3 separate regions of the Homo sapiens genome follow, and regions 2 and 3 are each linked to region 1. The links are contacts of gene promoters, found by promoter capture Hi-C in blood cells and fetal thymus (Javierre and others, 2016). All regions are on one chromosome and are shown on one strand. The core of a region is centred on a gene start or on the middle of the fragment in contact, and the rest is flanking DNA. Distances in the headings are between cores, read along the strand shown.

What was found. The method cuts DNA at HindIII sites, captures the fragments that hold promoters and counts their contacts. A CHiCAGO score of 5 or more calls a contact.
Region 2: a contact is called between a fragment that was not itself captured here and the fragment with the promoter of FAM9C in region 1, in 1 of 17 cell types (total CD8 T cells). The highest score is 5.2, in total CD8 T cells.
Region 3: a contact is called between a fragment that was not itself captured here and the fragment with the promoter of FAM9C in region 1, in 1 of 17 cell types (activated CD4 T cells). The highest score is 5.5, in activated CD4 T cells.

Annotation. Positions count from the first base shown.
Region 1 is chrX:13,042,467-13,047,179 of GRCh38, reverse strand. It overlaps FAM9C (family with sequence similarity 9 member C), which reads left to right and starts at 2,560. Exons shown (of 8, transcript NM_174901.6): 1 at 2,560-2,640; 2 at 3,323-3,451; 3 at 3,932-4,052; 4 at 4,231-4,262. The coding sequence starts at 3,391. It overlaps LOC105373133 (a long non-coding RNA gene), which reads right to left and starts at 2,447. Exons shown (of 4, transcript NR_171577.1): 1 at 2,331-2,447. The HindIII fragment of the contact is 8,868 bases long and covers 1-3,822 here.
Region 2 is chrX:13,464,447-13,469,159 of GRCh38, reverse strand. No RefSeq gene overlaps it. Among named protein-coding and RNA genes, the nearest start is that of EGFL6, 100 kb to the left of the region's middle. The HindIII fragment of the contact is 283 bases long and covers 2,004-2,286 here.
Region 3 is chrX:13,343,128-13,347,840 of GRCh38, reverse strand. No RefSeq gene overlaps it. Among named protein-coding and RNA genes, the nearest start is that of LINC01203, 10 kb to the right of the region's middle. The HindIII fragment of the contact is 719 bases long and covers 2,106-2,824 here.

The sequences.
Region 1 (4,713 bases), core at 1,311-3,810:
TATGCACAGCATACATGTTGTTTTCCAACATTTTATTATTAGAAATTTCAAATACACAGAAAAGTTGAAAGAATTTCATGGAAAACATTCATGTTCCCATCACCTAGATTCTATCATTGACATCTGGCCATACTGTTGTTGCTTATCACATATCTAGCCATCTGTTTGTCCCTCTGTCTGTCTATGAATCCAAGCAGTGCATTTCTTTCAGTTAGTTCTTAATGACAGCAATAGAAGAGTGAGGGCTGCTTTGAAAATTGGTGTTATTTCTACATTTGTTATGAAGCATTATCCTTACTTGTCAGTCAATTCACATAGGGTGGAGTAGGGTGTTGGGGGTAGGAGGGGGTTACACCTCCAGTTATTAGAAACCAATTCTCTAAATTAAAGTACTTATTCTAATAACTCTTGAGAAATCTCCTTTAAATTTGCTTAAACATTTCCTGTGGTCTTTGTAGATAACCTCTAGTGGGAAAAAAAAAAAATTGAAGTGACCATGTTTGCCCTAAAGGCTTTGGTTAGTTCACAAAACCTGTTTCCGCAACCCAGAGTTGCTTCAAATAGACTTCCTCCCTTTACAAAGGCTTAATGATTTGTGTATTGAGTTGTTTCTTTCTGGGAGACATCTCACAAATACTCCAGTTGGGAAAAAGAGATAAATTGCTCCATCCAAAGTTTAAAAGAATTTCTTCAGGGTTTTGTAACTTGGACACTTGGTGTTCTGAAAAGAATGTCTTTGTGCCTATTTAAAATTGCAGAATCCTTTTCAGTTTGTTTCTAGGCTGTTATGCCAAAGAAGTAGCTCTGTAATCCCCATTTGTCTTCACCTGACATCAAATTCCACTTTGTGATGGAGAATTGTTCCTTGATTTGACATTCTTTTAAAGAAAAATGAGCCAGCATTGAATTCTTAGCTGAATACCAGTAGTTGGTGTATGTGTGTATGTGTTTCCAATTATAGACAGAACCTGGTATAGTACTTTCAGCTGAAATCTTTGATGAAGCATATGAAAATTACATTGATCCAGATGGGATAGAAAGCTGTAAGACTGGTTGCACAAAGCCCTCTGCAAGATTTGTCTTCTTTCTTAATGTTACACATCTTAAGCTCGAAAGAGAGAGAAACCTGAAGCAATCATGGCTTAAAATTCCCCAAGATGTCTCATTGGCTAATTTGGGTACCAAGTAGATTGTGGGGAAATGGGGACAGCTGGTGGTATTTAGTGTCAGTAATTAGGGATTCTCTTTAGGTTATAGAGAACTCTTAGATATAAAGGTGAGCTGCCTTGTCAGGGAAAGATGGCTTCCAACCCAGCTGTGGAAATAATCGGGCTGGGCACGATGGCTCAAGCCTGTAACCCCAGCACTTTAGGAGGCTGAGGCGGGCGGATCGCTTGAGCCCAGGAGTTGCAGACCAGCCTGGGCAACATAGTGAGACCTCATCTCTGCAAAAAATAAACAAAATTGGCCAGGAGCGGTGGTTCATGCCTGTAATCCTAGCACTTTGGGAGGCTGAGGCGGGCAGACTGACTGAGCTCAGGAGTTCGAGACCAGCCTGGGCAACACGGTGAAACCCTGTCTCTACTAAAATACAAAAAAAAAAAAAAAAAAATCAGCCAGGCGTGGCGGCGTGCGCCTATAGTCCCAGCTACTTGGGAGGCTGAGGCAGGAGAATTGCTTGAACCAGGGAGGCAGAGGTTGCAGGAAGCCGAGATCGTGCCACTGCACTCCAGCCTGGGGACAGAGTAAGACTCTGTCTCTAAAAATAAATAAATAAATAAAATAAAATTAGCTGGGCATGGTGGGACATGCCTGTAGTCCCAGCTACTTGGGAGGCTGTGGTGGGAGGATCCCTTGAGCGCGGGCAGTTGAGGCTACAGTGAGTAGTGATTACACCATTGCAGCCCAGCCTGGGTGACAGAGCAAGACCCTGTCAAAAAAAAAAAAAAAAAGAAAAAAGAAAAATGAAAGAAAAGAAATGACCACATCATGAGAAATCTAGACATAAAGTCTTTAACTTTGTATATCCACTGCAGAATCATGCAATGCCCAGTGTGAGGGAATGGAGTAGGATAGGAGAAAACTACCTGCCCCTGCTGGGAGTCAACAATTTTCTTAGATAAAACATAAAAGCACAATCCATTGATAAAAAGGATGCAGCTGGGCGTGTTGGAAGCACACAGGACATGGGAGGGAGCCTGGGCTCCACCCGCAGGGTGATGGCCATTCCACCCAAAGGGGCAGGAGTGGCTGGAACGAGCCTGGGGGCAAGGTCCTAGGCCCCGTTCACTTGGCCTCCATTCCTTAGGGCAGGGTCCCCTGGCACTCACCACTCCCGAGTCCTTGCTTCCTTCACCAGGATGAGGAGCTGGAATATCGTGGGGACAGAGGCCTCAGAGAGCCACCCAATGAGTCCACAGCAGCCATGGACAGTCCGTGAGGGGGAGGGTGTGCCTGCAGGGGGCGTGGCCCCATGCCGCCCGCCACCTGCATGCGCACTGGGCCGACCAATCAGCGAGGAGCGCGGGCAGCCGGGGCGGCTGCTGCTCTCGTGAGAACAGAGGACCCAGGCCCTCGGAGGAGCTTCGCGGTGCCAGCCTCTGCAGGTCCTCTGAGGGAGCAACATCAGGGCTCCCTCAGGTGAGACGCCCTCGGTGGGGATGCGGGGAAGGCGGGCCAGAGGCCCTTTGGGGAAGAGGGTGTGAAGGGCGGGGCAGCCAGGCTGATCTGTGAGGAAATGGCCCAGGCATTGTCGCCTGGGGCCTGGGTCAGGGCAGGGAGTTGGAGCTGCCTGAGTGGTCCCCAGGACCCAGGAGGGTCCCGGAGGCCTGTGCATGTGTGCAGCGTTTGGGGGGGGGTCGGGGGGTCAACGTGGGTCCGTCTTGTCTGGCTGCCCATCAGGACGGGATACTTGGGGTCACCAGGGGTCCCCTGGGCGTCCAGGCTGGCGAATGGGCAGTCCCTGCCCCTGTCAGAAACAGGTGCGTACCGGCTCATTCCCATGGAGATGGCTGGGGAGATCCTGTGTCACCCCGCGGCCCTCCCGACTCCACTGGGTCGCTGGGGAACCCAGGGGCAGGGCCAGGCTCTGTCCCAAGGGCACTGCAAGAATCCCGCAGAGGCCGCGGAATTCTGCGAGCTCTGCAGCCAGCCCCGGGGAAGCGCTGGACGGGCCAGGACAGGAGGGGATGATGGCATCTTCTCCGCGTCCCCTCCTGCTCCCACGGGAGACCCGGGGCGCCCTTGAACCTGCGATCCTGATGATTTTCATTTAACACGCCTCGTTTCCTTAGTGTCCTTAGTGTGTCTTTGCACTCACCAGGTTCAGAGGTCGCCTCTAGCTTCCCAGGCCAGTCAGCCACGGAGCCCGTGGGCAGGAAGGGCAGCAGGATGGCTGCCAAGGACCAGTTGGAGGTTCAAGTTATGGCCGCCCAGGAAATGGAGCTTGCAGGTAAACACAGCCCAAGGGGACCTAGAAGAAGGTGCACGCCCAACAGTCTGTCTGCTTTCTGGGCGGGGCGCACATGGGCAGCCCGAGGCCCCCGGCCCCTTCGTGGCTTTGGAGCTCACCGTGCATGTGCTGAGATGCCCCAGGTTTTCAAAGCAGGCTCAAGGGCCTTAGGCTTCCCGTGGGAGGCTCCCCCTCATAGCAGGGTTACAGATGCTCTCAGAGCAGCTCTTCTCCATGGATGCGGTCCTGACATCCAAGGGATCTGACCTGTGAACGTTGTTTACTGGGACTTGAACCCGAAGGGCTTCCAAAAATGCCTCCGTAAAATGGTTAGGAGCCGGCGATTCCATGTATAGCTCTGCGGTAAAGCTTTAATTGGCGGAGAGCCAAAAAAGTCTACAAATAGTACGTTTCTCTATGAAAAATGTCCACAACAGCGTCTTCCTCTAAAAAAGGTTTGTCTTTTTTATTTTAATGCAGGAAAGGATCCAGTAAGTCATGAGCATGAGGAAAGAAAACCTGTTACAGAGACAAAGGAGGGAGATGTAACTGATGAGCATGGGGAAAGAGGATCTTTTGCTGAAACAGATGAACACACGGGGTAAAGTGTTTAAGTCCCTTTTGCCTGTCAGATAAGGTCTTTTAGGAAAAGTCAGCTTTGGATCATGTCATCACTGTTATGTTCTATGCAGAACATTTCACACAAGACATTTCTTCCCAACAAACAAGGCCTTTTGTGTAGCATTATGTTAAAATTGTGTTGCAACTTTTTGTTACAGGGTTGATACCAAGGAGCTAGAAGATATTGCAGGTATGTTTTACGAGCTATTTGTGGTTTATGAAAATTGTTTTCAACCATACAACCCTTACAGTAGGTTATATGAATTAGTGGATGACAAGACTGTCTTAAATGCCTTCTTCTCATATATAGCATTTAATGTAATCTGTTTAATAATTTTTCTTACTTACTTTTTTAATTGTTGATGTGGAATGTGAGAATGCTTCTAATAATGGTGAAGCAAGAGGGGTGGCTTTTCTTTCATACACGTGGAAATTTAATTGTTTGGGGGATATTAGAGGACATTGGAGGAGAAACAGCTCTATTCGTTCCTTTCAGTGTACACACATTAAGTCATATATCAGGTTTTTTTTTAGCTTTTACTTTATGTTTGGGGGTACATGTGCAGGTTCGTTATATAGATAAATTGCGTGTCACAGGGGTTTGGTATACAGATTATTTTGTCACCCAGATTATAAGCATC
Region 2 (4,713 bases), core at 896-3,395, 420 kb before region 1:
GATGGGACAGACTCCACTATCCTATTTATGTTCCAGAGCTCCCAGTGTGATTAGGCAGAGAGATGCTGGACTTCTCCTGAAACCACATCCTTGCTTTCTTCCAATCCTGCTTCCCTCACTCCCATGCAGATTTCTCCTGCAAGCCATCTGCCAATAAATTACTTGCCCAAGAACCACCATCTTATGCTCTGTTTCTGAGGAACCCAACCCAAGACAATTTGCAGTTCACATCAGAGATACTCCTCTTGTAGATGAACCTGTGGGGCTGGGCATATGGAGAGAACATTCTCAGCAAGTTACTCCAATTTGGGCAGCCCATTTTCCACATTGCTTTAAGACTTATATCCACAGTTGTCACATCCCACCTATATTTTTGAAAGTTTCCTTGACTAGTTGGTAATTCAGTCTCCTACAGATTGATGCTAGGTGAGAGAGATTCTAGGCAAGAGAAACTGGAAGATGGTTGGTCTTCTTTTAACCAGACAGAATTGCTGGTGTAGTATGCAGTTTGGTTTTGTTGACACTGGAAGTGGTGGTGGATTCAATATGGTCGTTAGACAGATCTATTGCAATTGTTTTGGATCATTTGGTCTTTGGAGGCTCATATGGAATGTTCAAAGATCTCATTCCAAGAGTTAGCTCTTCTGTGGGAAAGGGCCACAGGAAGTCCAAGCTTGAGCTCCAAAGGTGCTTCTTAAGCTCCTCCTCCAGCCCTAAAATCAAGGGGAAAGGCAGCTCTAGGGAGCTTTCTATCATGAAGTGGAAACAAGATTCAGTGAAGGGTCTATTCCTAGGATGCTCTCCCATTTCCCTGGGCTCTGGAATTCTTGGTTCCCACAGAACCTCAAACAGATGGTTGCAAGTTTGATTCTAGGCTTATGAAACTTGAGCCAGCCCCAAATGAAATCACCTCTGGGTTGGCCAGGAGCCACTTTTTCTAATATGTTTCCTTTCGCGCCTTTCACCCTACCCCGCATAGGAGTTGACGATCATCATTAAATGTCATATGTTTTCACACAATGGAAATGAATTGTCACAATCACTATGTTGTAGGATTAGGAAGGGCCTTATGCAGGTTTTTCCATCCTTTAAGATTTAATGATAAAAAAAAAAACCTTATTTTTTGAAAATCTTATGAGATGGGCATGGTGGCTCATGCCTATAACCCCAAAACTTTGGGAGGCCTAGGTGGGTGGATCACACTTGAGGTTAGGAGTTTGAGACCAGCCTTGCCAACATGGAGAAACTTCATCTCTACTAAAATAGAAAAATTAGCCAGACATGGTAGCGCATGCCTGTGATCCCAGCTACTTGGGAGGCTGAGGCAGGAAAACCACTGGAACCCAGGAGGCAGAGGTTGCAGTGAGCCAAGACTGTGCCACTGCACTCTAGCCTGGGTGACAGAGTGAGACTCTGTCACGAAAACAAAAGAAAAAAAAAAAATAAAAGAAATCTTCCACTAGTGTTGTGTGGAAGAAAAAAAAAATCTGTTCTCATAGGAATCCACTGTAAAAGCCAGTTCTCACTCTCCCAACATTCTTTGTAACAAACCTGAAAGTCTTACACTGCAAATTAAGCTAATTTCCTTTTCATTTAGCCTTTGCAGAACTGTCTACTGATATTTCCTGGTTTAACACATTATGATGAAAAGATGAACTCTGTTGAGAGAAATGATATTAATGGAAGTTTATTTTAAGGATGAGCTGACTATTCATATCTGGACACTCTACATTTGATTCCTGGCAGACCACTGGAGAGCTAAACATTTAGATCACATTGTCGGAGGCCTGCATGAAAAATTACTTTTGCTGGGAAGTGCATTGATATTTACCCTTGTTAGCTTCAGACACAGGGATCTTTTAATAAACACCCCTAGCACAGCAGCAATCACATTTATTCTAAAAGTGATGAAGATGTGGCCCATGTGAAGACCTGCATGGAAACGTTCTTCTAGATTCTATGTGCTAGGAAAAACTTTATTTCCTCAGAATTACTGGCAAGCTTTATTTCTTAGACAACATGAATCAAGCACTTGACTATATTTTCCCTTTTTGAGTGGGCCATAAGAAAGCTCAGTGCCAAATTTTGGGTTCATCTTTGGAGTGGAGCCTGCATAAATTTTTTTTTCTATTTTTCCCTTGGTTTTGTCCATGTGTATTTTTGCAAGGCCCAAATTTTAAGTTTTATACCTATTTCATCTTAGCAGATCTATGGAGCCATTTAGAATACTTTATGTATCAAGGCAGGGAGTAAATATAGCATAAACATTCTAATAACCCCTAAGCTTAAAAAATTATTTATCAAACTACCCCTCACTTACCTTTAAAAAAAGAAAAAGAACTAAATAAATCATGTGGTAGCTTACACTTTGAAATGGGGTCAGAATTTACAGGATAATTAAAATGCCAGCTCTGGTTCCAAGATGAGGGAAGACCCAGACACAAGATCACTGAGGAAGCCAAGATAGTATTTGCCAAATGTATAAAAGCAAAATGAGCAGGAAACATTTCTACCTATTTAAGAAAACATTGCAAATGAGAACTGCAATGAGGTCAGAGGACTGTGGATATGCAGAGCAGCTAGGGGAAAAATCCTGTCAGACCTTGTAGCATGGGTCTCCTGGATGACCCCACAAAAGCCTATAAGACATCAAGAGTGCACTGACTATAACAACAATGTGTAATTAATCCCAAACAATTTGTGTATCTCTCAATAGATATTTGTGAGAGGTAGTATGATCACCTTCGTGTGGGACATATTTTCCTCTTCATATACCGTTTACTTTCAAATGATTATTTGAGGAATCAGAGCCAGTGAAAAAAGAACTCTGGAGGAAGAATTATGAGAGGAAGAGAGCTGGGGAATTTATACTTTGCAGTGAGCATGAATTTTTTCTTTTTTGTTCATTTTTCAGCACAGTACTCAGGAAATATTTTTGAAGAAAAAGAAAACCACAAACAAGAATACTAATTAATTAAAATGCTAAGCAGGTACCAGTTCCCACATGGAATCTAACCATAACCAGTGATATGGAAACTCAACTTTTGGAAAAACTCAGGCCCCAAAATACATTTTGATAGTTTTAGGGCATAAAGGAACTTTAGGTCTTTGTGATAGAATTGGGAAGATGTGAGATATAAATGGTTGTGAGGTTTCATCAATGCAGGTCTTTGTTCATCAGGTTCAAATTAGCATTTTTTCTGCTAGTCCCTGAAAGTTCTGCTGAAGCTAAATTTAAAGACTGTCTGTATTAGTCCATTTTCACACTGTTATAAAGATACTACCTGAGGCCGGGTGCGGTGGCTTACGCCTGTAATCCCAGCACTTTGGGAAGCTGAGGTGGGCAGATCACTTGAGGTCAGGAGTTTAAGACCAGCCTGGCCAACATGGTGAAAGCCAGCCTGTCTCTACTAAAAAATTAGCAAATTAGCCAGGCATGGTGGTGTGTGCCTGTAATCCCAGCTACTCAGGAAGCTGAGGCAGGAGAATTGCTTGAACTTGGGAGGTGGAGGCTTCAGTGAGCCGAGATCGCACCACTGCGCTCCAGTCTGGGCAACAGAGTGAGACTCCATCTCAAAAAAAAAAAAAAAAAAAAAAAGTGGAAGGTGAAGGGAAAGCAAGGCATGTCTTACATGGTAGCAGGCAAAACAGAGAAGAGAGCAAAGGGGGAACTGCCAAACACTTTTAAAACCATCAACTCTGGTGAGCGAGAACAGCATGGGGGAAACTGTCCTCATGATCCAATCACCTCCCACCAGGTCTCTCCCATGACACATGGGGATTACAATTCGAGATGAGATTTGGGTGGGAACACAGAGCCAAACCATATCACTATCTCTTCCATAGCTATTTTCCCTCACATTGCTTTAATCAAGCCTCTTTCTCCCTGTGGGTCATCCTTACTTATGATCTCAAGAACCCACCCAGCCCAGCCTAGCCTCTCCCTGACCTTGTGCAAATGGTAGGAAGCCTGACGGTTTGCTCTGCCTTAAGGTCTTGCCTCATCTGCCCAGAGAACTCCAACCTGGCAGTAGGGAAGGCTGAAAACCAGCTCAAGTCAGAACAAGAACCCCCAGCAAATGCTCAGGAATTCATGGAACTAGACACCTCTGAAAATGGAAGGCAAGTGCTGCTTAAAGCAAGCAGATTTGTTAAACATCTGTATAAGAAGCAGTTAGAACCCCCAGCAGAGGGTAGGAGTTTTGTACCCTGGAAATGCTGAATCAGTGGGACTAGACTCTGGAAGGAAACTAAATTCAGTCAAGGGTAATGGTACTGTGCTGGAAACAGGAAGATTATCTAGAAGTCTGCACACTGTTGGGTAGTACCCAAGCCCCTCCCTTCAACTGGGATCTCAGTCAGCCAGGTTTACATTCCTCAGACAGGATATGGAAAATACCCTCTCTGGAAAGCCTCTCTCATAGCCTGGCTTCTGCCTGGGGGCCTAAGCATGCCACAAAATACAAACAACAGCAACAAAAACTGGCCCATGTGCATCAGTTACTGATTGCTACAATAATGCCACATAACAAATCATCCCAAAATTCAGTGACATAAAAATCAATTATTATTGCTTATGAGTCTATAAGATGCCTGAGTGGTTATTTTTGCTGTGTTTATGTACACATTTGTGATCAGATGTATGTCAAGTCAGTGGTTCTGGGATCTTGGCTGGGGTTTCTCACATGTCTGTCAGCTGCTCATTGGCTAGCC
Region 3 (4,713 bases), core at 1,216-3,715, 300 kb before region 1:
TTCAACTTTTTTTTTCAAAAATGCAATTATATTTTTAAGAACAATCTGGCTGGGCACAGTGGCTCATGTTTATAATGCCTGTAATGCCAGCAATTTGGGAGGTCAAGGCGGGAGGACTGTTTGAGCTCAGGAGTTCAAGACCAGCCTAGGCGACATGGTGAAACCCCGTCTCTGCAAAAAAATACAAAAACTATCCAGGCATGGTGCCCCATGCTTGTAGTCCCAGCTACTTGGCCAGCTGATGTGGGAGGATCAATTGAGCCCGGGAGGTCCAGGCTGCAGTGAGCTGTGATCACACCACCACACTCCAGCCTGGGCAACAGGGCAAGACCTTGTCTCAAAAAAAATAAAAAATAATAATCTGCTCAAATGTTACTTCTTTCATGAATCTTTTGCCCTTTCCCCCAGGCAGAATCAATGGCTCCTGGCTCCTTCTGTAAAGGCAACATGGTATGTATCAGTCAACTCTTGCCAAAGTAATGCTGTATACAAAATCCCTACCTATCTCAGTAGCTTACCATTACAAACCTTTCTTTCTCCTGAGTCTGCAGGTTGGCTAGGTGAGAGGCATGGTGCTTTGCTTCAGGCAGAGGGTCAGCTAGGCTACTCTGATTCTATGCCTATTACCTTCTGACATGGCTTTGTGAAAGAGACGAGTGCAAACACATGATGCCTCTCAAAGCCAAGACTCAAGAACTGGCCCACAGTTCTTTAAACCTATATTCCATGGCTAAAACACAACGCACAGCTAACCCCATGGCAGTGGGGCAGAGAATGATCCTTCCATGGAGATCAGGAGGTGTGGGAAAGGAAATACTTGTTGAACAATAATTTAATCTACCACATTATAGGAGACACAACACTGGTTTTGGAGTCTTTTGAACCTGGCTTTGAAAGCTAGCTCAACCACTTAAGAGCTGTGTGCTTTGGGGCAACTTACTGTTTACCTTTTTTGTTAATTGGAGGTAATAAAATGCCTGGAAGAGGCGTTGTGAGCTTTAAATGAGGTTAGGTGTATGGTGACCACAGAAGTACACTAGTCAGAGCTCCTTCTAGAGAATGTGCAGTTGGCAAATAAGTATCCCAGCACTGGGTGCTGTCCCCCTGGATCCTCCATCAGGCTTGCCCTGAGGCCATGCTTCCCTCAGGCTGCACCCGGCCATTGATGAAGCCCAGCAGAGAAACTAAATCAGGCCCATTGCTGGAGGATGAGACTCCTCTAGTAGGAGACATGGGCTTGAAGGCCTCCCACTGATCTGGCTTAAACATTCTGACACCAGCACTGCAGTCTGAGGCTCTGTCTCCAATCCTCTTTCTCCCTTCCTTTGCTCCTCTAAGCTGGTGTCAGGCCTGCACTGCAGTTGGGAGACTCTCCCTGCACACCCCTGCTTCCTCCCCTTTATCCTGCACAGGTGTTTCTCCCAATACATCTCTAGCTCATTCAATTTCTTTTTTTTTTTTTTTCCTTTTTTTGAGACAGGGCCTCAGTCTGTTGCCCAGGCTGGAGTGCAGTGGTACAATCATGGCTCACTGCGGCCTTGATCTCCTGGGCTGAAGCGATCCTCCCATCTTAGCCTCTTGAGTAGCTGGAATGACAGGCACGCACCACCACACCCAGCTAATTTTTTGTGTGTTTTTTTTTTAATAGAGACAGGGTTTTGCTATGTTGCCCAGGCTAGTCTTAAACTCCTGGGCTCATGTGATCCTCCCACCTCGGCCTCCCATAGTGCTGGGATTACAGGTGTGAGCCACTGAGCCCAGCTGCACGTTCAATTTCCAATTTCATCTTGGTGTCTGCTTCTTGGAGGCAGACTGAGACACTGTATATTAAGTGCCTAGTAGAGTGCCTAAGAAAAAGTAGAAACTCAATACATTTTGTTTTTAAAAGATTATTTCTCTTGTTTACTCAAGATCTTTAACGTATATCTCATCTATAGCTGTTGTCACACTTCACAGATAGTTGAGGGTTTTCTGATTTTAGAAATTGTGATAAAATATGTGCAACATAAAATTTGTGATTTTAACCATTTTTAAGTGTACAACTCAGTGGCATTAGTTACATTCACAAAGTTGTAAAACCATCACCATGATCTGTTTCCAAAGCTTTTTCATCACCCCAAAATACTCTATTACTAAGCAATAACTCTTCCCCCGCTTCCAGTCCCTGGTAACCTTCATTATACTTCCTGTCTAAGTTGTTTTATTACTTATTTCCCATGGTTAACTGAGCTCAAAGGCAGGAATTTTGTCCTAGTTGTCTTTGTATTTTAGGTTGTGTACTAAATCTTAATAGAAATGAAATGAAAAATACAAACAGGGATGTACACTACTAAAGTGATGAATGCACCAGATTGTTTAACTTGATTGTAATTTTGATTGACGTTACTATCTCTCAATATTTTTGCTTCATGATAAAACTTGTAAAGAAAAAAGGAGGGTTTCTATGCATGCAGTTTAAGTGAATCTATCTTTTTCCCCTTGTGACCCCTTTCTCTCCTCTACTGCATTTTCTAAAGATCACTGCACACAATCGTTTAAGCAGAACGCCGGTTGTAGGTCAACAGATGATTTTGTAACAAGGGGGCAAAGGAAAAAATGCAAAACTTCCTCTTTCTCAACATTAGTTAGCATGGGAAAGTTAACATGATGTGCTTCAGAGGGTTCATTAGAGGGGGCTTTCCTTTATGTGGCATTTGACTGTTTCTACTCAAATAAAATGAACTGGCAAAATATTTGAGCAGAAATGTGTATGCCTTTCTGAATAAAAGGAGCCTGGAGGTAGCCGCTTCACCTTGCTGATTGTTTCCTTTGCTGTGTAGAAGCTTTTTAGTTTGATGTAGTCTCACTTGTTCATTGCTTATGTTGCTTGTGTTTTAGCGGTCATATCTAAACATATCACTGCCAACGTCAAGGAAGGCTTTTGCTGTGTTTTCTTCTAGGAGTATTACGGTTTTACGTCTTTAATCCATTTTGAGTTAATTTTTGCATATAACGTGAGATAAAACCCCAATTTTATTCTTTGCATGAGGGTATCTAGTTTTCCGAAAACCATTTATTAAAGAGACTGTCCTGTTCCCATCATGTATTCTTGGCACCCTTATCAAAGACTAGTTGACTGTACATGTGTGGGGTTATTTCTGGGCTCTTTATTCTGTTCCACTGATCTATGTCTCTGCTATTACAATAAAATCAGTATCTCCAAGAGATACTTGAGCCTCCATGTTCATTGCAGCATTATTCACAATAGCCAAGATATGGACACAACCTAAGTGTCTGTCAATGGATGGATGAATGAATAAAGAAAATGTGGTATGTAAATACAATGAGGCCAGGTGTGGTGGCTCATTCCTGTAATCCCAGCACTTTGGGAGGTCGAGGCAGGCAGATCATTTGAGGCCAGGAGTTCAAGACCAGCCTGGACAACATGGCGAAACCCTGTCTCTACTAAAAATACAAAAATTAGCTGGGTGTGGTGGCGGGCACCTGTAATCCCAGCTATTTAGGAGGCTAAGGCACAAGAATTGCTTGAACCTGGGAGGCAGAGGTTGCAGTGAGCCGAGATCGCACCATTGCAGTCCAGCCTGAGTGACAGAGTGAGACTTTGTCTCAAAAAATAAATTAATTACATAAATAAATACACTGAAATACTATTTGATCATAAAAAGAAGAAAATCCTGCTATCCATATGGGAAACATTATGATAAGTGAAATAAACTAGACACAATTACTGTATGATCTGAAAGAAACCAAAATATCTCACCCCAAAATATTATGCATCCCTATTGCTCACCACATACGAAAATTAACTCAAGATGGATTAATAGCTTGACCCAGTGCAGTGACTCATGCCTGTAATCCTAGCACTTTGGGAGGCCGAGGTAGCTGGATCGCTTGAGACCACGAGTTCAAGGCCAGCCTGGGAAACATGGCAAAACACCTTACCCCAGCCAGAATGGACATTAAAAACTCAAAGAACTATAGATGTTGGCATGGATGTGGTGGAAAGGGAGTGCTTATGCACTGCTGGTAGGAATATACATATATATATATACAATATGCATACATATATACACACACACACATACACATATACATACATATATATATATATATACACACACACACACATATACACACGTGGGTGGAAGTGGAGACCATTATTCTAAGAGAGGTTAACTAAGGAATGGAAAACCAAATACCGTATTTTCTCACTTATATGTGGAAGCTAAGCTATGGGTATGCAAAGGCATACAGAGTGGTATAAAGGACATTGGAGACTCAGAAGGGAGGAGGTAGGAGGAGGATGAGGAATGAAAAACTACATATTGGATGCAATGTACACTACTTGAGTGATGAATGCACTAAAATCCCAGACTACCACCATGCAATTCATCCATTTAGCCGAAAACTACTTGTACCCCTAAAGGTATTGAAATTAAAAAAAAATTTTAATATATATTTTGACATATTTTGAGGTGGCTGTTCACAGGGCCTGCCAACAGAAGTGGCCTGCAAAGCTATCTTGTGTGAAGGAGATTTGCAACTGTAGAGGGAGTAAAATGAAGTAAACAACAGATGCTATCATGTATTCTTTGAAACACCACCCCACTCTCTCCCTCTGGATCCAGGAAGGATCACCTGGGAGTCTTGACACTTTAAAGGCCCTGCAGAAACATTTATCACAGGCTCCCATCTCTTCTCTCTGAGGGATTT